Linked DNA regions of Homo sapiens: regions 1, 3, 4, 5, 6 and 7 are each linked to region 2. Evidence: promoter capture Hi-C in human tissues and cell types (Jung and others, 2019). All regions are on one chromosome and are shown on one strand. The core of a region is centred on a gene start or on the middle of the fragment in contact, and the rest is flanking DNA. Distances in the headings are between cores, read along the strand shown.

The links. The method cuts DNA at HindIII sites, captures the fragments that hold promoters and counts their contacts. A contact is called where the count stands out against the background at its distance.
Region 1: a fragment that was not itself captured here is called in contact with the fragment with the promoter of GPC6 in region 2 in 1 of the 25 tissues and cell types used here (mesenchymal stem cells).
Region 3: a fragment that was not itself captured here is called in contact with the fragment with the promoter of GPC6 in region 2 in 4 of the 25 tissues and cell types used here (heart left ventricle, heart right ventricle, mesenchymal stem cells and 1 more).
Region 4: a contact is called between a fragment that was not itself captured here and the fragment with the promoter of GPC6 in region 2, in 1 of the 25 tissues and cell types used here (lymphoblastoid cells).
Region 5: a contact is called between a fragment that was not itself captured here and the fragment with the promoter of GPC6 in region 2, in 1 of the 25 tissues and cell types used here (mesenchymal stem cells).
Region 6: a contact is called between a fragment that was not itself captured here and the fragment with the promoter of GPC6 in region 2, in 1 of the 25 tissues and cell types used here (heart right ventricle).
Region 7: a fragment that was not itself captured here is called in contact with the fragment with the promoter of GPC6 in region 2 in 1 of the 25 tissues and cell types used here (dorsolateral prefrontal cortex).

What each region holds. Positions count from the first base shown.
Region 1 is chr13:92,725,784-92,729,013 of GRCh38, forward strand. The region is part of intron 7 of GPC5 (glypican 5); the gene reads left to right. Among named protein-coding and RNA genes, the nearest start is that of GPC5-AS1, 5.8 kb to the left of the region's middle. The HindIII fragment of the contact is 3,123 bases long and covers 1-2,876 here.
Region 2 is chr13:93,225,466-93,228,907 of GRCh38, forward strand. GPC6 (glypican 6) reads left to right here and starts at 1,342. Exons shown (of 9, transcript NM_005708.5): 1 at 1,342-2,151. The coding sequence starts at 1,992. RefSeq lists an enhancer at 1,935-2,777 and a silencer at 2,831-3,125. The HindIII fragment of the contact is 15,285 bases long and covers 1-3,442 here.
Region 3 is chr13:93,662,193-93,665,318 of GRCh38, forward strand. The region is part of intron 2 of GPC6 (glypican 6); the gene reads left to right. Among named protein-coding and RNA genes, the nearest start is that of GPC6-AS2, 190 kb to the right of the region's middle. The HindIII fragment of the contact is 6,919 bases long and covers 1-3,126 here.
Region 4 is chr13:93,694,964-93,698,249 of GRCh38, forward strand. The region is part of intron 2 of GPC6 (glypican 6); the gene reads left to right. Among named protein-coding and RNA genes, the nearest start is that of GPC6-AS2, 160 kb to the right of the region's middle. The HindIII fragment of the contact is 3,857 bases long and covers 1-3,274 here.
Region 5 is chr13:92,814,791-92,818,264 of GRCh38, forward strand. The region is part of intron 7 of GPC5 (glypican 5); the gene reads left to right. Among named protein-coding and RNA genes, the nearest start is that of GPC5-AS1, 95 kb to the left of the region's middle. The HindIII fragment of the contact is 5,870 bases long and covers 1-3,474 here.
Region 6 is chr13:92,830,993-92,834,418 of GRCh38, forward strand. The region is part of intron 7 of GPC5 (glypican 5); the gene reads left to right. Among named protein-coding and RNA genes, the nearest start is that of GPC5-AS1, 110 kb to the left of the region's middle. The HindIII fragment of the contact is 4,606 bases long and covers 1-3,426 here.
Region 7 is chr13:92,797,965-92,801,330 of GRCh38, forward strand. All of the region lies in intron 7 of GPC5 (glypican 5), which reads left to right. Among named protein-coding and RNA genes, the nearest start is that of GPC5-AS1, 78 kb to the left of the region's middle. The HindIII fragment of the contact is 4,740 bases long and covers 1-3,366 here.

The DNA.
Region 1 (3,230 bases), core at 65-2,564, 500 kb before region 2:
AATTTAGATCTAAATTGGATGAAATTGTTATTGACCTTTAATCACTTACTCCTAATATAACCTGAAAGTAGAACATGACTTGCTATTGAATTTCTTTTTCAAATACTGGTATATTAATGATGCCCTCTGACTTTTAGCGTAGCACATTGCATGCTAGGTCACAAGTGTTTCCTGAAATGACTGAACTGTATCAGGCTTCATCTTCCAGCACTGATGCACCATCCTGAATATTGCTCTAGGTGAGGTCTTTTATTCTCTGCCAAAAGTCACATTATTTTTGACACAAGCTTCAGCTGCTTCACCAAAGAGCTAAAGAGTAGAGTCAGAGCTCCAGAAAAGAGATGATTTGTAAGGTCCTGGAAAAGGTGATGCTTTTAACTGAATTCTCTCTCCCACTTCAGGCTTGGTATCCCACATGTTTAGTTTAGGCACTCTTCCCATCATGATCTCCTGAAACTATTAACTCAAAACACCCTTGATCTACATAATTAGATCTTGTTTACCATACCTGGAATCAACATATTGAAAAATAATGTTTATATTTGCTCTTAAATCTAGTTGTTTCTTTTAGAACCAAGAATTCTGTACTATTTTTTTGTGTTTGTTTATTGTTTGTTTGTTTGTCTTGAGACAGGATCTAACTCTATCACCCAGGCTAGAGTGCAATGGTGAAAACATAGTTCATTGAAACCTTGAAATCCTGAGTTAAGTGATTCTGCCACCTCAGCTTCCCAAGTAGCTGAGACTACAGGCCCATGCCACCATACCCAGCCTGAACTATTTCTTAATAAAGGAATAAAACTTTTTTTCCAAAATTTAACTGTTTATTCCACTTAAATGCACTCACTTTCTTGATAGGTGATCACATCTTGTTCCTGATCATATGTTACTTGCCTTTGATCCCTGGTTAAAGTCAGGTGTTTCAATGATAAGAGCAAAAGTTGGATTCTGAAACAAAGTTAAGCTATAAACTACATATAAGTGGTCCATAATATTTATGAAACCCAGTCAATATGGCCAAGGAAAATTGAGGTTACTTCTGTGAAGATAATAAGTACTCGTTCTGAATGTACTAACAAATCAAAGCTCCAAATATTTTTGTTTATGGAGAAAAGAGGGATAAAAGAAAACTTATTGTGAGAGCTATAATTCCAAAAAATAAAGGTGTCACCTGAAATGCTATTGATAGTAGGAACATAAAATTTAAATATACTTCCTAATAATGTTGCCTCTTAATTTTAGTAGAAATGCATTCAGACTCTTTTTATCATAGCAGTAAACAAAAGGCATGGGATATCTGTGTTTAAACCACCTTAGCTTAACACAATTTGTAATAGCCATCATTAGGAGTTTATGCAGAGCCCTGTTTTATGTCAACCACGCTAAGATAATGTAGCTCGGGGTGCTATATCCATGGTCTTTGAAATGTGTGCGTAAACAGACACTTTTTCCATGTATCTGTTTTGTCATTTATTTTGCTGTGTAAACACTATTATGAAATTTAGTCTAATCTTTTTGGGTTAATTCAAACATTTTCACTATGTTCAGATAAATGTAACCAAAGCCAGATGTTGGTTTCTGTACTAAGAGGGCTCACTTAATGTAAACATGATTCTACTTCCTCCATTTCTTTTTGTCAGTCCAGATGTTGAAGTTGTTCAAAATGCTTTTCCTTTGCCTCATCACAGACCTCCCAGAAATCAAGCCTGCTTTCCAACTGATTTCTGCATGGGTGTCCACCTTTAACTTCCTATTATGCCTCACAAGCTCGATAATAATATTACAAGTGGCCCCATTCAATCTTGACAGAAACTCCAAGAAATTCATCTCTTCATTATCAGCTGTCTTCTTTATGCATTCTCAATTCAGTAGACACTTTTTCAAGCTTCATTTGCTGGGCAGAGTTGTGCTCCCTACCCTCTCACTTCTGAAAAGAAACATACCCTTAATGGATTCTGCTGACTCTCCATTCATTTTCTAGACTTCATTGGAGATGGCTTTCTTTAGACTGCAGCCTCCTTTGGACTACCTTCACCATCCTTTATTCTGTCATTACTCGATCATATTGGTCTTTCAATCTGCATTTCTACCTTCTCTAACAGTCAGTTTACTATCTCCTACTTTTTGTCTCAGTCAGTATTCACACCTCACATAAAAATGTGTATGCTTTTGTTCATGCTTTATAAAAAAATCTCTCCATGTTTTTGTTTGTTTGCCGACTCTTGATTTTTTAATTGGTGTAACTTAACTCTTTGGACTATGGTGTTTTAAAAATGTAGAACTACAATGTTTCTAAGAAAGTACCATAGAATGACAAAAAAATTTCACCTTTTACAACTACTTGTCTCATACATAGCTTGTCTCTCAATGCATTATTTGCCATAGGCATTTATAAACGAACTGATTTCTTTACCATTATGAAGTCAAAGACAGTTTCTCTTCTACATGCCTCTAGGAAAGATTGATGAGCATATCTTTTTTGATGAAATGTTTCAGCCCTAGGATGACCTTAATGTGCTTATATCTTGCTTTGTTGCTAATCTCTTTTATATTTCTATAGTTTTCTTATTAGTTAAGCAGTCTTGAATGTATAGGGATAGACAAAGAAATTGAATGTTAATTTTTTTGTGGATTCCCCATGATTCAGCCAATACATTATTTCCAAGTTTAGTTCAGAAGAATAGATTTAAGCAAAACATAGAGAAATTTAGTGAACTTAAAATTTCAGAACGCATCCAACATGAAAAACAGAGAAAGCCTCAACATTTCTTGTATTAAAATACTTTCCACTTCTAGGAAAACGGGGGTAGGAATTTAAATGTTGACACATAAAATACAGCACTGATTGTTATTATTTAAAAATGCAGTCACTATCTTAATGTTTTCCTGGAACAGACTTAAATAACTGGGTAACATAATTGTACTGTTCTATTTTTGAATGCCAACTTTGACATTTCTGTATGAATCTAAATTTCGAACCATTTTAATTCATACATTGTAATTTTTGCATGTTGCATTAATAATTGGGAAGAAAATTAGAGATTATCTAGTTTAATTACTCAATTTTAAAGTTGCAGAAACTAGGAACTGGAAATAGTACATTTAAATGACTTTAATCAAGCTGCATATTTAGTTAACAGCAGTACTAGGGCAAAGAGTCGATTTACTTATCCTCTCAGAAAAAAACTATTTCTGTAATATTAGCCCAGGATTCAATATTCATACTGGTT
Region 2 (3,442 bases), core at 92-2,591:
CAGAAAGATTTAGCTATGGAGTTTTTTTTTTTGTTTTGTTTTGTTTTTTTTTTTTTTGGTTTTGTTTTGTCTTGACCTATGAGTTTGAAGAAGACAAAGTGGCTCTGTAAATAAGTCGACTTCATTTTTAAAGCGTTTGGAAAGGTTAAATGAGGTTGAATCTTGAGAGTCTTTTTGGTGGTTAGGAGAGGGGGAATTTATTAAAGAGAGGAAGACAATGTACCTAATATGTTGTGATGATAATGACAAACTCAAAGATTTAAACTTCATGAGTCATTCTGGTCATTCATATCATCATCAGGAAAACATCTTCATGTGTAGCTTCATAGGTGAGCTCCACAAAACTGTGCATTACCTTGTAGTAGTTTGTGAATAATGTGCTGACCTATGACACATAGCCACGTAAGTGAATAAACACTATTATTATTATTATTTTGTCTTGGTTTTCATTAAACTATCTTAGTAGTTTCAGGAGCTCTGGGTTTCAACACACACTTCTGCCAGCTGACTTTAGTGCGTCCATTAGCATAACAAAGTCAATTAGGCAAACCTGAATTTTCACTTTTATCCCGTTCACAGAACATCAGTGTAAATGGAGACAGGAAGAAGAAATTGGATTGATTCTCCACTTGAGAATTATGTTAACTTGGAAGAAAATGTTAAGTCTACTATGTGAGGGCATCTAGTGAGAGGGAAGGAATCACCTCCCTTCCCCCATTATGTCCCTTTATGCACCTCTGACCCTTGTGCTCTCCTTTTCTTGTTGCTTCTGTGGTCTGGTTGTTAGCTTTCCCGATCCTCCACACATTAGAAACCTAAGCATAATGATTTCTGATCGAAGGCTATGAGATATTTGAAATAAAAAAAGGGGAAATTGTTGAGTCTAGAACCAAACCTTTAAAAATTAAGAACTACCAGTCTGTAATGTGTGCCTTTAGAAAAAAACAAAGTCAAACAGAAATTAGGCAACTAGTTAGAGCCGTGATTGTGCTCTGCCACCCATGAACTCCCGTCTATGACTATTTCCACTCTGGCTTTGTGTTTCAGTAGGTCAGGGACACATATTAAGAGCAACAATTGGAACTGCGTTATCCTTTACCTCCATAAAAATACAGCTTAATAACATGTTAATGACTTAAAATTACCTTGTCTTTCTAGATTGTTTATTGATGTCATTTCAGATCGGTATAAAGGATGTGAAGTGAATAAGAAAATAGGTACGTTTCTTTTTCTTTTTTTCCCCTTTCTACCGACTAGGAAGAGATCCAGTCCAGGTTTTGCCTTTGACTCGGCCTGTGAATTTCGGCTGTGCAATGTGTAGCACGTTTCTTTCTCCCCCCTCCTTTCTCCTTCCCTCTTGCCTCCAGTGACTGTCTCCAGGATTTCTCTCTTCCTATTTCAGGAGGACTCTCACAGGCTCCCACAGCCTGTGTTAAGCTGAGGTTTCCCCTAGATCTCGTATATCCCCAACACATACCTCCACGCACACACATCCCCAAGAACCTCGAGCTCACACCAACAGACACACGCGCGCATACACACTCGCTCTCGCTTGTCCATCTCCCTCCCGGGGGAGCCGGCGCGCGCTCCCACCTTTGCCGCACACTCCGGCGAGCCGAGCCCGCAGCGCTCCAGGATTCTGCGGCTCGGAACTCGGATTGCAGCTCTGAACCCCCATGGTGGTTTTTTAAACACTTCTTTTCCTTCTCTTCCTCGTTTTGATTGCACCGTTTCCATCTGGGGGCTAGAGGAGCAAGGCAGCAGCCTTCCCAGCCAGCCCTTGTTGGCTTGCCATCGTCCATCTGGCTTATAAAAGTTTGCTGAGCGCAGTCCAGAGGGCTGCGCTGCTCGTCCCCTCGGCTGGCAGAAGGGGGTGACGCTGGGCAGCGGCGAGGAGCGCGCCGCTGCCTCTGGCGGGCTTTCGGCTTGAGGGGCAAGGTGAAGAGCGCACCGGCCGTGGGGTTTACCGAGCTGGATTTGTATGTTGCACCATGCCTTCTTGGATCGGGGCTGTGATTCTTCCCCTCTTGGGGCTGCTGCTCTCCCTCCCCGCCGGGGCGGATGTGAAGGCTCGGAGCTGCGGAGAGGTCCGCCAGGCGTACGGTGCCAAGGGATTCAGCCTGGCGGACATCCCCTACCAGGAGATCGCAGGTAAGCGCGGGCGCGCTGCAGGGGCAGGCTGCAGCCCTCGGCTGCCGCACGTCCCACTGGCCGCCCGGCGTCCCCTTCCTTCCCCCTGTTGCTGAGTTGGTGCTCACTTTCTGCCACCGCTATGGGACTCCGCGTCTCCGTGTTGGGCGGCGGATGCTCCTGCGGCTTCTTCGGCGGGGGAAGGTGTGCGTCTCCGCCGCCTCATTGTGTGCACACGCGGGAGCACCCTGGCTCCCGCCTCCCGCTGCTCTCGCGCCCTTCTACCCCTTAGTTGATGGCTCAGGCCCGGCTGGCCAGGGAGCCCGGGTCACTCCGGGGCGGCTGCAAGGCGCAGACGGAGAGCCGAGCCGGGCGCTCACTCCGCGTTCTGGTTCGGGCAAACTTGGAAGAACTGCGACCGCAGTTTGCCCAGCGCCACAGTCTGAGTGGCGCCTTCTCCACTCCCGCCCTTGCGCCGGCAGGGGCGGTGGAGAGACGCGGAGGGCTCCCCCAGCCCCTCTCTCCCCTATCCGTCCTTCGGGCGACAGAGCGCCCGGCGCTCGGGCCGGGGGCGGGCAAGGCTGGGAGGGACCCTCGCCGGGGACCTGGCCTCTGGACGCCGGCGTTTCAAGGCTGGTTTGGGGACTTCACGGGCTGCCTGTTTCAGATGTGGGGCGGGCTTTCCCGTTAGGGTTCCTCAGTGCTTCCCCAGTTGCTGTTGGCCACTCAGGGCCCGGGGACACCCTGCCACCCGGTCTGGAGCCGGCCTCGTCTGCCAGCGAACAGCCAACTTTAGCGGGTGGCTCAGCTGGGGATTCGGGTCCGGGTTCGGGGGCCCCGTGTCCCCCGCATGCCCGGCCACTGGCATTGCTCCACCAAGAGCTTGAGAGCGCCCACCCTTTCTCTCGGCGCCAGTGTGTGTAGCACTTGGTCTCCGACAACTTGCGCGGCAGTCTGGGTGCTTGTTTTCCGGCTCTTAGCTCCAACCGAATCCGAGCTTCTCTGGGGCTCTGTGAATGAAACGTGTCGGGGAGAGATAATCCTTTGGCTGCTAAAGAACAGAACTGAGAGAGGCCGAGGGAGGCCAGGAGATGCTGCGAGGGCGCGGGCTGCTCAAACCGGGCAGCTGAAGTCCTTAGTGACCTCAGATCGTCAAGTCAAAACGCTGAATTTCCACCAGCCTCTGTCTGCTTTTTGCCAAATAACTGGTGGATGGATGAAAAGCATTTTGCAGATATCTTAGAACATCACAGTTTCGATACGTTGAGGAATTACTATTTTCTTATGATTTTCAAGCTGTAGAAGTGAGGGT
Region 3 (3,126 bases), core at 555-3,054, 440 kb after region 2:
TTCTGTTATTCATAAATACATAAGGCATTTGATGTTATTTCTTGTAGTAAGTCACTCGGGCTAATGTGTTATCACTGAAAACTAACAGTACCTATGGTGGAAGGTAGGGAGCGGGGAGGAAAAAGGAAAGAGCTATCAAAATACTTCTACATTTAGGCTGGGGGTGGTGGCTCACGCCTGTAATCCCAGCATTTTGGGAGGCCGAGGTGGGCAGATCACCTGAGGTCAGGAGTTTGAGACCAGCCTGGCCAACATGGTGAAACCCTGTCTCTACTAAAAAATACAAAAAGTAGCTGGGTGTGGTGGCAGGTGCCTTAATCCCAGCTACTTGGGAGGCAGAGGCAGGAGAATCGTTTGAACCCGGGAGGCGGAGGTTGCAGTGAGCCAAGATTGAGCCATTGCACTCAAGCCTGGGGTACAAGAGCGAGACGTCTTTCAAAAAAAGCCAAACGAACAAACAAACAAAAAAAAAACTTCTACATTTCAAGTTAAACTTTAAATTGAAATGCTAGTTTGGGTATATTTTCCACCAAGCATGTGTCTCCAAGCAGCAATTCCCTATTTGCTTATGTCTTGTAATATCTTGAACTTGATATTCTTCTAGGAATAATTCCTAATGGGACACCAGGATAATCAATGAAATAGAAAAAAAATTGAAATTTAAAACAACAACAAAAAACAAAACACCTAGGCATGTGCCCTGATTACTCAATAGAGTTAATCAGAATTCTGGTGAAGTCAGGTGAGCATATCATTATTTTTATTGCTAACCAGGTGATTCTAATATACAGCCAGGATTGCGAATCACTGTGATAGAAAAATGACATTTGGTGGGATCTATTCATTCACCTAGGCATTAACAAATGTTTACTTTGAAAATACCCTGTGCCAGTGACTGGTTGCAAAAAAAAAAAAAAAAAAAATCTCAATTTTTAAGGAGTTCAGAGACTGACAGTACAGAACAGAAAGCTAGACATAAAAAGCCTCCTATGACTTATTATAATTTTTTTTCCTGATAAGTTTTATAAAGTAATACAGGTAATTTTCACATGGAACTGTTCAACTCACTGGACCTTATCATATAATTGTTTTGAATTGGAATCACATATAGCCCATAGCATGGCACCTTGGGCAGAAGATGCATTTACAACTATGTGTCAAGTTGATGTTCATATATGAAGTGACTTTTCTCCCATAATAAATTCCTTTTTAAATAAAATCTAGCAGATGCTGAGACAGATTATTAAAGGTCTGTTAAGCTTATGTACTTAATTTTTGTGTTTACAGTCTTATTATATCCCCTTTCTGTCTGAGTAGATATATCTGCCTCTAAGACAGATCCGTCTCTGAATAATAATGGATTTTAAAGTTAATCTAATCATATTATGTTTGAGATTTAAATGCAATAATAGCAGTTGCTTTTGTTAATGTAAAATTGTATTGTACCTTCTTTTGAAGTGATGAAAACAGAAATAGTAACTTCAGGGTCAGGAAACGTAATCTAGACAATCTTCCACAGCTTTCTTGTCTACACAACAAGAAGTTTGTTTAAAATGGGACAAGTCACTTCATCTTTCTATTAAATAGAATCATCCACTAATAGCAAGGACTGTGCTAGATGTATAGGTAAAAATGCATAAAATGAAGTGATTTTACCTGCAAAAGAAGTAGCTGAACCAGTTAGGCTATAAGTTCCTTACCAAAACCAAATTTTATTATTCTAAAATTCTAGAGCTAGAGGAGGCAAGAGCATGGAAGTCCTCAAAGCAGGATTTTGGTCTTTTTCCAGATCTGTGACTTGAGTAACACTCTCAGCATTAGTCGTTGTTCTGTATAATGTTAGAATAATACTGACAGTGTTATTTTATATGGTTCTGAAGATTGCTCAAAATGTTTGTAACACTTTTAGGAAATAAAATTTACTTGGTAAACAATAAAAAATGATAAGGATATAACTATATAATTTATTCTAAATTAAATTTATTCTAAGTACTTTGAAATAATTTAATAAGGTAGGGAGCAATTCTCAAACTCCATATATAGTAATCACCTGCTGTGATTATTCAGCCATGTAAACTGCATTTTTAATTTTCAAGATCATGCTTTTAAAAAGCCCGTTAGCTGCAGATAAACAAAAAAATGCATGGGATTCAGTGAACTTTTTCGTTTTTATTTTTTAACTTAAGAAAAGCACATATACAGGTATTTGTCACTAGGTAGACTATTATTTTTGGAAATCAGAGCATTTCCCTTGTTAAGGGAAACTGATTTGGCAAATGTAGATGGATGGCTTTTTAGAAAAACATACCATTTGATAGAAACAAATAAGTGAAACACCCATGATGTTTCCAGTGTCATTACTATTACACATGTTTCTATCATTATTGCCATCTTCAGGAAGCATACTCTGCACACAAGCCAATTTTGTTTGTTTGTTTGTTTTGAGACAGAGTCTCACTCTGTCGCCCAGGCTGGAGTGCAGTCATGTGATCTCGGCTCACTGCAACCTGCACCTCCCGGGTTCAAGCAATTCTCCTGCCTCAGCCTCCTGAGTAGCTGGGATTACAGGCATGCGCCACCACGCCTGGCACACAAGCCACTTTCTAAACATTTTTCTTTTTACTTGGATTAGAGAATGCCAAGTATTCTGAATTAAAAATTTCTGTTAGAGAACATCTTCTTAAATTGACAGACATTAAAGTAAACATAATAATAATTCACATTTTCAACTGTCATATCAGCAACAATTTAAACAGTTGTTATTCTCAGTGTTGAAAAAATGTGAAGAAACCTCATATACTTCTCTTCAAAGTGAATGTAGCTTCATTATTTTCAGAGGCCCAATCAGCTATCAGGGTAGAGCACCCACACTTGTCTTCACACACTACTGTTTGGCCCAGAAATTCTACTTTAGGAATTTATCCTAGGCATACACGCCCATGAATCTGCAACCTTTAAGTATAAGAATGTTTACTGCATTGTTATTTGTGATAGCAAAAACCTGAAAACACCCAATTACCAATGGCAAAAATAGTAAATAAGTAATGGTATATCCATAATGATATGCAGCCATGCAGCCATGCAAAATAATTGAACTGATTTGAAATGAAGTTCAAGATATATTGA
Region 4 (3,286 bases), core at 96-2,595, 470 kb after region 2:
TGTACTTCTAATCATAAACTTCCTCTTTAGAATGGAATCTCATAACATTAAATAAATTTTCTAACTGCTCAGAAACGATGCATATGTGAGTTAAATCTGTGCTAAAAGAATAATCAAGCTTGTTCAATTAGAAAATAGTCATAGAAATGAGTCCATAAATAAATAAAATTTTATGAAATATTTAGCAATGAAAGTTTATGGAATAAACTTTACTTAGAAGTTTACTGAGCCTCCACTTTTTATTATAAAAATACTTCCTGAAATCACCCTAAAATATGTTTGCTAGCAGAATGAGAAATTGATTTACTTACTTTTTAAAATTGTGTTTCTCAGATTGACAGCAGTAGGTATAATGCAAATAACAATATTCCAACATGTTATTTTTTAACATTCAATAAAAAGCACTTCTATTCATTTTTAAACCAACAAAATAGAGAATTGAAATGAACTTGAAAAACTACACATGAATATTAGAAATATTAAATATTATAATTTAAATATTTATTTCAACGTGTACTTTCAAGCATCATATAATCCTTTGATGTATAAGGGAACAGTGATTTGAAAATAACTTTTATAAATACACTTTTGTTTTAGATACTAAGAAGTATCTTTTGAGTAAATTTTCTCTCAAAATACATATTGGCACAATATTTCTTAGATTTTTTAAAAAATATCTTTAAACATTTCCACTCCAAAAATGCAAAATAGTGTAAGATGAAAAATGGATATTTAAAATATGCTTTCATTCATTTTCCTTTGGTAATCAACTCAAGCTTTTTCAAGCTATGTCAAAAATGATGAGCTCAAAGGCATTTTGGAGGTGACTGTGACATTGCTGATATTAATTGGTACTTTATTTTCACTTCTATTATGCTCTGCAGGTTTTGAACCTATTTTCCACCCATTTTTGTTCTTATAGTTAGAAGGTAGGCAGGAATAAACAAAGATGATAATGAATTCTTATCTAATTATGAGTATCATCCAGATTTTATAAGAAGAAAATAATTCCAGAAAATGTCTTCAAAATCAATTTAATGCAGTGTTTGCAAACATAAAAATGCTAACAGCATGTAGAAAGACTTTTGACATTTTTCCTTTTTGAAATGTATTCCCAAATACATGGAAATATGTGTTTTTAGGTTTGAGATAAGTCTCTGCGAACATGCTGTAATGAGATTATAATCCAAGAAAATGTTATATTTCTATGCTTATGATTTCTAATACGGCTTTTCAACTGGCAAATTGTGGTAAATGTGCTTGATAAGACAGAAAGCATCATTTCCAACTGATGTAAATTTTCTCCTCTCAACTTCACAAACTTTGAATATTTAGAGTTTTGGTATTGCTTTTAACGAAAGTTAAAACTAAAATGTCATGAAAGCCATGGACAGGATGAAATAATCCACATACTAAATAAAGATAAGCAATGAAATTTAGCAATCCTTTTCTCAATCTTAGTCTAACTACTATTTGGACTATTTTAATACACCTTTTCTTGTTTTATATAACTTCATCATTAGCTATGAAGAATAAACAATGAACTCATTTATACTTTCTTCCCTCCCCCTTTTTTTCCTTTTTTTTTTAAAAAACAAAAACAAAAAACAAACAACAGCAACAAAACTTTTATACTGGTTACCTCCATAAATTTTTTTTTTTTTTTTTTAGGCAGAGTCTCCCTCTTTTGCTCTTTTGCCCAGACTGGAGTGCAGTGGCAGGATCTCAGCTTGCTGCAACCTCCGCCCCACCGGGTTCAAATGATTCTCCTGCCTCAGCCTCCCTAGAAGCTGGAATTACAGGCACCCACCACTACGCCCAGCTACTTTTTGTATTTTTAGGAGAGGCGGGGTTTTCACCATGTTGGCCAGGCTGGTCTCTAACTCCTGACCTCAGGTGATCTGCCCACCTCGGCCTCCCAAAGTGCTAGGATTACAGGTGTGAGCCACTGCACCTGGCCACCTCCGTAACTTTAAATGATATTTTAAAGCTGTATTTCTTGAGTCATCAACTTCTGAACAGTGTCTCTTGCCTTCCTGCTGTATAGCCCAAGGAATCCCTTTCTCCATACATCTTCTTCCTCTCCCAGTCCCCAATTTGTATAGGATTGCTTGATGAAATCATCCCCGCATCATGTTCAGGAGATCAAGCTCCTTAGCATGACCTGCAAGGCCCTACTGATAATACCTGGCCCCAGCCTTTCCTTTGGATATCAGCTCTCACTTCCCTTCACCCATTGCCTTTTCTCTGGACTCAGGCTTCTTGCTGGGACTCAAACATGAGAGACCATTACCTGATGCACTGGTCATTGGATGCATTGCTAGAGTGCCTTTTTATGGCTGTTTCTCTGGTATTTAGGATTCTGATGAAAGTTTCCTCTCTCAGAGCACTTGCTTTACATCCCTTCATAAAATAGCCATGCACCCTCACTCCTCTTTGTTACTACTCTGCTTTATTTTTTGCCATAACATTTACTACTATCCAACTTAATTCTATATCTGTTTTACTAATTTGATTACTTTTCTCCCACTAATGTGAACTTTCACATGGCCAGCCATTCTGTCGGTTTTTGCTGTTGAATCCACAGTTATTAGAGCAATACCTGCCACAAATATATGTTAGACAACGAATTAGCATAGTTTACAAAACTTAAATGCTGTTCTGTACTGTCAATTAACCGTCCATTACTTTGTCCATACGTTAGTTCCAAAATTTTAGAACTAACAAATAATGTTATGACTATATAAATATCATAAATTGCAGAGTCCTTGAGTGTGATTAGATCATACGTTGATTAGATCATACATAACACTCCAGAACTAAGTCTGTGCCATTCAAAAGAGAATGTTCTAAGCATCAAGATCAACTATCCCTTTTCTTATAATCCATCAACTGTTCAAAACAATAACATGCTTTCATCTTTATATTTATTTTATGATTATCATGTGCTGCTTTTATTTCCCATGGAACTTCCAACTGCATTTCATTTATCTTGACAAATGAAGTGAGTGTGGCCTTCAACCATATCTCTAAAATAATCTGATTCCTAATTGTATTACTTGTCAAATATCCTAAAGTGGAGAAATTCTTTAAGGAGTACGCCAAAGTTGTCATCATTGAGTCCTTTCTATTCATCCAAACTTAACTTCTCTTCTTCTTGGCTCTCACAGTTTCTACTTCGTTGGATTCTTTCTTCTTTTATTCAGCTTGAGTGCTTGTGAGGTATGCTTTGGATGACACAACTAATTAATAATGTCTTTATTTTGCCCTGGTATATGGTGAATGT
Region 5 (3,474 bases), core at 936-3,435, 410 kb before region 2:
TATAAAAAGAATACATTATCAAATTTTACACTTAAACATGTACATTTAAATTTGTTTTGATCAACGAATTTCTCTAACTGTGCACTTTAAATAGCTACACTTTAAATAGCCAATTATACATGTTTTTAAACCTATTTCCCATCTTCTCAAATCGCAAACCACATTTTGAAAAAAATGTTATTTTCTTAAGAATAATAAACAATTTTATATGTTAGGAAGCTTAAATACATTCAACATATATTTATTTAACACCTATGATATACCAGATGTGATTCTAGGTTCTGGGGATGCATCAGTGAACAAAATTAATAATGTTTCCCTCTTTTGGAGCTTAACTCTGATAGGTTAGATTGACAATAAAGAAAGAAAAACATATAATACAATGCCAGGTAGCAGTAACTGCTATGAAAGCAATAGCGCAAGGAGGTAAAGGTGATGAGAATGAGGCTGCTATATTTTAGGGAGAGAGATCAAAGAAAGACTCCATGAAGAGAGGATATTTTAGCAGAGATAACCAATGAAGTTCCCACTTCATTGGAGCAGAGAATACAAAATAAGACATAGAGGAGAGCCTGCCAGGCAGAACAATCCCCAAATACAAAATCCTGAGGCAAGAAAGTTTTTTGTATTAGAGGAAGAGCGAGGGGTCAACGTGGATGAAGCAAGTAATCAGAGGAGAAAATTGTGAGGAAATCAGGGCAGACTAATAGTCATAGCCTGATTACACAGGCTTTGCTGACTCTGTGATTTTTTTTTCTATATATGATCTGACACCAGTGGAATACTATAAGCAGGAAAGTTACAGGAGTTATAGTTGTATGTATCGAAAAATGTTCTGGCAGAAGTGTTGAGAACAGACTATACAAAGACAGTAGAAGCCAATCAATGGTGGTGGCCAGGACTCCTGTGGCTGTACAAGGGGTGGGGGTGTGGGAATAGTGGTATGGTTTGGGGCATATTTGCAAGGCAGAGCCAATACAATGCACGGCAGATTGAATGTGAAATATGAGAAGGTAAAAAATCACTTCAAGGCTTGGAACCGAGTCACTATTGAGTTGAGCTGCCATTTTCTGAAATGAGAACATAGGGGAAAAACAGTTTTGGAGATGGAAATCAAGAATTTGGCTTTGCACCTATCAATTTGAGATAACTATTAAACATCCAGTTGGAGATGTTGAATAAACGGTGGGAAATAAAACCCTAGGGTTCTGGGGAAAGATCAGAGCTATAAATATAATTTGGGAGTCATTTGCCCATGAAGGGTATTTAAAGCCACAGGACCAGATGAGTTCAAGTCATTAATGAAAGTTGATAGAGAAGGCCAAAGACTAGATTCTGAAATGTATCCAAATTGCTCACATTCAAGAGGAATACACTTTCTCAATGTGTCTGTTATACATAATTTTCATTCTGTTTTACTTCATTATGGCATAGCCATAAAAGTAAAGTGACAATTAGAAGGGCTATTGGATAGGTCATGGAACTCAGCCATGTAACTCTGGGTCTGTTGGTAACCAGATCCATAGACTTGAGCTATATGATTTCCCCCCTTGGGTTTCAGTTGCATTGTCTATAAATTACAATAATGAATATTGTTGGCTGTTTGAGCATGGGGAATGAAAGAAAAGAGGAAAACTAGCACTAAGGGGTTTTGAGATTTGTTAGTTGCCTGGTGGGAAAGTTACTCATTTCGGAAAGATTTAGCTACATTGAGCATGGCCTGTGTGATCTGTCATGATCTGAGACTCTTTTGCAACTGTTCCTGAATAGCACTGGCTTCTTCATTCTCACCTTGCTTTCACTTAATTGTACTGTTCTATACGTTAGTCAGTGATGGTTTGGTTTCAAAAACTAGAAACTCTCTGAAAATACCTTGAAAAGAAAACAGTATATATTGGGAGTTCCAGAGTATCTTGCAAAACTCAGGGTACATAGTGCTTCCAGGCTTTCTGAGGGACAGAACCAAGAATGGAAGGCTTTTAGTCTCATCCTGGTTTCCTCTTCTCTAATTACACATAGTCTGCCCTGACTCTGCCAACATGTGCCTTGAATCTCTGAAATATGTAAACTCCATGTCCAGTTTCCACAGATAATTGACCCTGTCTCTATATGTCCCAATTTCAAATTCCTGGGTGAGATATCTGGATTCAATCAATCTACCCTCTATAGTGATGTTCTCTAAATCAGTTGCCCACTCCCGGTCTAGAAACCTATAACCAAAAATGGGTTGGTTCACCTAGTACCTGCTTGAAGGATTCTAATACTAAGGTTAGAAGCTTAAGGTTGGAAGAACAATGCAATCCCTAAAAAGATCCAATATAGAAAATAAAAATAAATTACTGGTTCTAAATTATCATACTTATTTTTAATTATTCAGACCCATTCTCCTCCGCCTACCACTTCCCACACATACACAAACTTTCAAATGCTGTTACAATGAAGCAGAAAATATGAATATGTTGTTCTGCAGCAGGAAAAAGTAGTATAAATCTACAATTCTGCAGCAGGAAAAAGTAGTATAAATCTACAATTCCAATTGCCTAGAATACTAAAGCATCAATATCCTTTCAAATATTTCGGTTTGGGTACATACTTTTTTGATTTTTTAAGTCCTTCACCAAAACTATATGTTACTATGACATTAAGACTTAGTACAGCTTTTTGATTACATAGCCTTCTAAGTTTTAAGGCTGTGTCTGTAAGATGCCTACTCAACTGAATAAAATATCAGCATCAATCAAACTATTTGGTTTACTGTACAGAATTTTGACTATATTTAATCTTTGAAAAATTAATCAGAATTATTATCATAGGTATCCAATTTCATGAACTCTTCTAGTATTCATTGATGCTTCTTTGGAAATTTTATTTTCTAAGCCAACATATTTATTTCTTCTTGGGGCTCTCTTGAAGTCATAAAAGTATACCGTTTCACTGAAGGTCTGAGAAACAGGGCTAAAATTGACTCCAAGAAACAAACAGTTTTAGTATACTTTATATGCCCACTGAGTCTTTCAAACCACATTAGTTAATCATAAGTCACTCAGAAGAACAAGGTTTTAATGAAAAAATATTCTGGGCTTTTTAATTTGTCTCTTGAATATTCTGAATGAAAAAATAAACCTTGTGGCAGCAGGACATTTTGATTAGAAACTAGCATTTCTACAAAACTTTCCACCTGGGTAATGGGTAATGGATGGACATCTTGCCTAAATTGCATTTTTTTTTTTTTTTTTTCTTGAGATGGAGTCTCGCTCCGTCACCTAGGCTGGAGTGCAGTGGCGCGATCGCGGCTCACTGCAGCCTCTGCCTTCTGGGTTCAAGTGATTGTCCTGCCTCAGCCTCCTGAGTAGCTGGGATTACAGGCACCCATCACTGCACCTGGCTAATTTTTGTCTTCAGTAAAGATGGGGTTCACCATATTGGCCAGGCTGGTCTCGAACTCCTGACCTCAGGTGATTCAACTGCTTCGGC
Region 6 (3,426 bases), core at 914-3,413, 390 kb before region 2:
CCAAGGAAAATGTTCTGAGAACAGTAACTTGTTTGCTCTAGGTTTAGAGCTTGATGTAAGCCCCATTCGGCTGGTGAAAGCTTACTTTCACAAAGATTTTGTGTTAGCAAATAACACTCGGAAATGATCCCAGTGAGAAAATTATACAAAGTCGTATTCATGGCTAGGCTTGGCTTGAATCAGTAAAATGATAAAATCAAATTCCTGTTACCCTGTATTAGGTGTGCAGATTTTAATTACTCCAAATTAGGAGAAATTATCATTCTTGCACTTGAAGAGACCTATTTTAATAAAACATGACTCTTTTCATGCTAATTTAAATTTTTTTATACTTGAACCACATGTATCATATTGAGATTATTTATTCCAAAAGAAAATTATTTAAATCATATTTCTTGTTCCATAATACTTTATTACAACATTACTCCCATTTTCAGATTGTAAACTCCATTAACTAAGAATCCTCCTCTTACACATCTTAATATTTGAAGAAGTTATCAGGATTATTGGACAGTTTTCAGTGATTATTCAATTATTAAGTTACTCTATTAGCAGTCTTTGTATGAAGACATCATAGAATCATAGAGACAAAGACTTTAATAGTCTTGACTCTTTGAGTTGCAAGAAACAAAAAGCATTAGCTCAAGCAAATAAAGAACATATTGATTCCATGTGATAGAAAAGCCCACAAAGATGTCTGACTTCAGGTGTGTCTGGATCCAGGAGCTCCAATAATGTTATCTGAGCTCTCTCTGTATTTCTAAGATACGATTTTCTTTCCCTGTTGATTGCCTTCCCATTTTCAGTGGTTTCTTCCATGTGGCCAAGTAAGGTGGTCATAAATAGCATCAGTAAATTACCCTTACAATTTATGTGCACAAAGTAATGATGATTGTGTTTTTGAGACCTGAGCAGAAAAGTACTCTGATTGGCCTTGTTTGAAACATGCACTCATCCCTAAATCCATTAATGTACAGGTATATGGGCTTACCAATCATATATGTTCTTTACTAAAGCACTCCTAGAATTTATTCATTCTATTTTTTTCAATGAAAAAACTGAGGCCAGGAAATGAATGACTTAAAGAATGTCACAAAGTAAGTTAGTAGCATATTTAGACAATGCTAAAATAATTTTAATGATGGTCTAGATAAAAAAATAGAATCTCAAAAGGATATAGGAGGAGATCATTAGTATTTAACTATATTGACATACACGTTTAAAACGTTAACTTACTTAAACATAAAGCTCAAAGAAACTGTGAGTTTTCAAAGATCAACATGGCATTTGTCTGCCTGAATTTCTTAAGGAATTCTTCTTGAGTTTGGCATTAATTTGGGCATCCATAAAGATGGAAGAACTAAAAACTAGAACACAAATTCTACAAACTCAGTGGAGTAACTTTCCAACCAGATATGTAATGGATTTCCTGGAGATTACTGAAATAAAAATATTTTTCTTTGTATTTCTAATATTTTTTAAAACTTCTTACTAATCTTTTTAAAATAGACTACTGCTATTACAAGGTTTTTAAGAAAGGAGTTACTGTATCTTAATGTACTCATTATCACCTTGGTGAAAATGCTGCTTAGTGCAGTTAAGAAGTCTACACATTTTAGAACCTGCTCATTCCTCTTGGTACCCCTTGACTCCCTTACCTCCTCATTTACTCCAACCCAAATTTCCCATGGCTTGGAGGATGCAAAGTGGCTTCCAAAAATACCCACAATTTTGGCCTGGCATGGTGGCTCACACCTGTAGTCCCCGCACTTTGGGAGACCAAGGTGGGCAGATCACTTGAGGTCAGGAGTTCGAGACCAGCCTGGCCAACATGGTAAAACCCTGTCTCTAATAAAAATACAAAAATTAGCTGGGCATGGTAGCAGGTGCCTATAATCCCAGCTACTTGGAAGGCTGAGGCAGAAGAATCACTTGAACCCAGGAGGCGGAGGTTGCAGTGAGCCGAGACTGCCAAAGCACTTCAGCCTGGGTGACAGAGTGAGACTGCGTCTCAAAACAAACAAAACAAAACAAAAAAATACCCACAATTTAGCACAGTGAGATACATCTAACAATGAAGTAGAGACTACTGGAAATTAAAATAAAAGCTGGGTTTGAGTTAATATATAAAATGTATTCCTTTGAAACCTAGCATCTTTGAGAGAGGTCAGATAGATATTTCAATTTGAGCTTTTCAGAAGCCAACAGAAAGAGGGAGGCTAGATTACTTACTTATATGATTCACAGCATCTATATAAGTAAAAGGAAACCAGCTGTCCCTTGTGACTAATGTAATAGGGTGAACACAACCTCCTAAGAAGTTAAACAATATGCAAGATGATAGCGTAACACCCAAGCAGATTTCAGATAAACAAATTGATATAGATAGAGTCAAAGTGTTGTCATCCAAATACCTAGTTCTCTGACAATCTGTTTAACTGTGGAATAGATTTTAGAAAATCTGCATAAATAGATAATATATATATTCTTCACTCACTTGTTCATTAATGCATTCATTCTTTGAAAAATTGATGTTTTTCTTTATCCTCTGCACTGTGAAATATGGCAATAAAAAGATACAGCTGTCCTTGTTCTATCTTAAACTGATTGTGTCAGAGCTGATACAGATACTATTCACATTTTTATAATGCAATGTTATTTGTATTTTATTGTAATACTTATTATGGAAATACATGGTATTATGGGACATTATTGCAGAAAATGCTAAGCTAGACAAGGAGATCACAGACAGCCTCACAGGTTGGCAAGGGTAAAAGATGAGAGAGGGAAGGTGATGATTGTTCCAAGCACAGGGAATAGCATGTGACTATAAAGCTTTAACATAATTAAAGGAAATTTAGTATATCCGTAAGAGTTAACGTTAGAGAGAGAGGCAGGAACAAGATTATAGAAGGCTTTGTAAAACATAAGAAGAAGTTTGGATTTCATCCAAAGATAAATAGAACTCACTGAAGGATGTTAAGTAGTAGGACAATATAATCTGATTTGAATTTTTGTTGCCCTAGCTCAGAAGTCAGGAAAGCACCAATAATGGTCTGGATTAGGGTAATGGCAGTAGGACTGGACAGGTGTGGATAGATTCAAGAGACAGAAAACAAATTTAGCGAGACTCCGTGATTGATTGGAGAGGAGGAATAGGAAGATTTCACTTCCTGGCAGCTAATAAATGAAAAACACTTTGTCTATTAACACAATACCTAATTCATGAAATAAAGCCTTGTCATTTATTCACAAGATAATTATTTTTATTTTCTCTTTCAATGGTAAGAAAAAACTTTGCATATTTTACTCCAACCTGTTAAAAAATGGTAATTTATAAGATTTTAAAAGCGGAACTGAAGTGTACCACTGTTTTATCCCAATGGGTATTGTTACACAATTCATCCAAAAATTGCTTCTACTAAC
Region 7 (3,366 bases), core at 810-3,309, 430 kb before region 2:
CAAAGTATGAAATTCTTCCTTCTCCACTCTTCACTTTTCCCCCCAACCATGCTTAGTAACTTTCATTACTAATTCCCTATCCTAAGCAGTTTCGTATTTTTCAATAGCAACAAGTCATGTTGCTTTATGTATACCAGACTGAGCATGCTGAAAATGACGAGACACAGCAATGCTAAGGAGGAAGCTTCTACCCCTTGGGAAACTGAGCATCATGAGGCCGAAGCATACTGGTTGTTTTTTGGGTATTTTTTTGTAGCTCAATCAAATTTCAGTAAGACATATAGTTTATAAATGTTTGTTTATGGATATTTGTTATGCAGCACAAGATGATATACACTCAGCAATTCACAATGGTGTAAAGGGCAGTTACACTTACTGCTGTGTTCATAATCGATACTAAATTGATACAGACAAATATAATGCTTTTTTCTGTTTCCAAGTTTGAACCAGCTATTGAATCATTTATACTTTTTCCTTGCTGGAAAATTAGATATTCTTCATATTGAGGATTTTTAGAATATTTGAGAAAGGAAAATTATTCAGTTTGCCATGTGTGATAACCTACACTGTAATTCAAGCAAATTTACTTCTCAGGATATAAAATTTCAAGGCATTCAGATAGGAATATTATCTCAGCTGTTTGTGGGATTTTCATATCTGTTTCTAATTTAATGTGTGTTTCGTACTAGAGATGAAGTATGATTCTCTTGCTGTTATTTTTAATCTTTACAAACTAAAGCCTCCCTTTCAAATCAGGCTGTTGCAATTTTTCCTTTCATAGCATTAAAAAGTTTCTAACTTATGGTCATACAGCATATTAAGCAAACAAAAATACCAAACACTCAAAATTGTAAGTCACGTGAATTTAATTATGAACACATATTGACTGCTGTACGAAAACTCTAAATGTAGTTTTATGATTTGCAACAATTGTTCTAAGTAACACCAGTATTACAATACGTAATATCTTAGATTCCTCATATTTTTCTTTGTCTCCAAGAAAGAGTGCATGAAATTGATCACAAACTGGTAAACTAGAAAAATCTTCAGAAAATATTTCCACTTTTCTTAGCAATCTGTTTGAATAATTAGCAAGTCTTATGATCAGACTGATTTTTTTTTCATTTAATGAAACAAAAGTCACTCTTAGAGATTGCTACCCCTCTCCTGTGGTAAATGAGGATATTTAGATATTTTTGACAAATACGTAAGTGGGAAGGTGGCTGGCCTTATGGTTAATTTCACATACTCTGAAATGCCTGTTATCCAGAAAACATTCCTTTCATCCACTTAAAAATCTCAGATAAAGCTACTGTGTAACTTCAAACAGACACATATTAATATAAAATATTTATATGTTAAATTAGCAGACTTCTTTATGTATTTATTCACTCTAAATTATTTAATGCCTGCATAATTTAGATATTGTTCTTTACTCATTACCATAATAACACATAATCACTGATTGGATAAATAGGTCTCAATTTTTATAAAAAGATAGTAAGAAATGGTGCATGTGGCATCTGAAAATTTACATGGGAACAAGAGGAAAGCAGCAATGTCTGAAAAATTATTTTAAAAGCACAAGACATTGAAAATAAAGTGTAAGTAAAATCAGTTGAAAAATGGGGAATGATAGGTGTAAATGGGTAAAAAGTTTCAGAGGAGTCTTTTCTGTGGGTTTCCATCTTACAATTGTGATTCTTTAGTCCTTTACCAATGCCTGGGTTTGACTGTTTGTGTTAATACTACCATGTCGTCAACCCTATCAAGGAAACCACCTTTTTCTCTCCCTTCACACACACTGCTTTTTGAATGTCTATCAGTCGCTTTTCTCCTTTCTCTTTAACATTTCACTATAGATAAATGTGCATCCAAATAATTTGTGCTGTCAAGGAAGAGGGAAGAACACAAAAATACAGATGAATCGGCTCTGATTCAAATTTTTCATTTCATTATATCATGTTGCTAGAATTTAAGAATATTCCTGTGAAGATATGTTAGCTAGTTCTCACCTTACTATCAATTCCAGTTTCAGAGAGATAGTAATAGCCCTAGATATTCATATCATGACTAGATAACCACTTTTTATTTTTCCATCCACAGAAGGTAAATATCTCAAAACAATTTACTTTCATCCAAGTATTTGGTTTGCATGTTCAAAGCTCCCAAACTTCTGACACACACAGCCTTCTTGCAGAAGCTATGGCCATGTAAAATAACTATACATGACTGTAAAATAATAGTTTTCAATCACTGGTATTCATTAAAGAATTTACATTAATAAACTGCCTTCTGAGATCCCAAGATGGGCATAACATTACGGTGCATGCTACATGGCCTCTCCCCTTCTCGAGACTATGAAGGTCATTTTACAAGAACCAAACACAAACCCTTCCTTTGGTCATTTTTGCTCAAGTCAAACCCTAACTACACTGCATTTAAGATGTTTATTTGTGAGATGAAGCATGTCCCAGCAATTCATAAAACATGAAAGCTCTGCCCAAACAGTAAGTGTTGCATGTTGTGGTAAAAGCATTCTTAAATCATTCTGAGTGTTACTTTCCACTAACGAACCCTGTGAAAATTGGAATTACCAACATTCCAGGATCTTGCTCCTGCTTTATGAATGAAGATAACAGGTGGTTCAGAAAAGAAATAGATACAGCAAAGAATGCTGCAAAGCTAAGTTGTGAAGGTTCCTATGATTATCTAGAAGGCTCATTTCAATTTATAATAAAGGGAAGAGTCTTAAGCAATGAATGGTTTCTTCATTGATACAGAGTTCATTAAGAGGAGAATAAGGGATTAACTTTTGATATTCTCAGTTCCCAATAATAATACCTTAGGGTGTTGTTTGTTACCTTGACGGAAAGTTAAATTCTGCAACCCTAAAATAATATCGTTACTATCCTTTTAACCCTTTTAAATTCCCTTAAATGATGACCTTCTTGCTTGTATATTGTTGTGTCAACAGATATTACAAACAAGAATATAAGACCATTTCAAAATTTACGAAATTCTCCCTAATTATTCTTGGTTTCTAGATGTTACTAAAAAAAGAAAAAAAAAAGAAAACTAGCTTTTTGGGGGTAACAAATTAGGTATAAAATGTATTTTATGTACATTCTATATAACAAAATATGTGTGTGTATGTGTGTGTGTAGTGTGTGTGTGTATAATATTGTTATGCAACCCATGACTATGTGAACACATGTGTGCTTGTTTATATTTATACAGTCTACCTACATATACCTATAGATATATATACATATCTATATTTATACAGACATTTTGGTCGACCACAGACTGCATATACGACTGGTTCCATGAGATTTTAATGGAGCTGAAAAATTCCTATTGCCT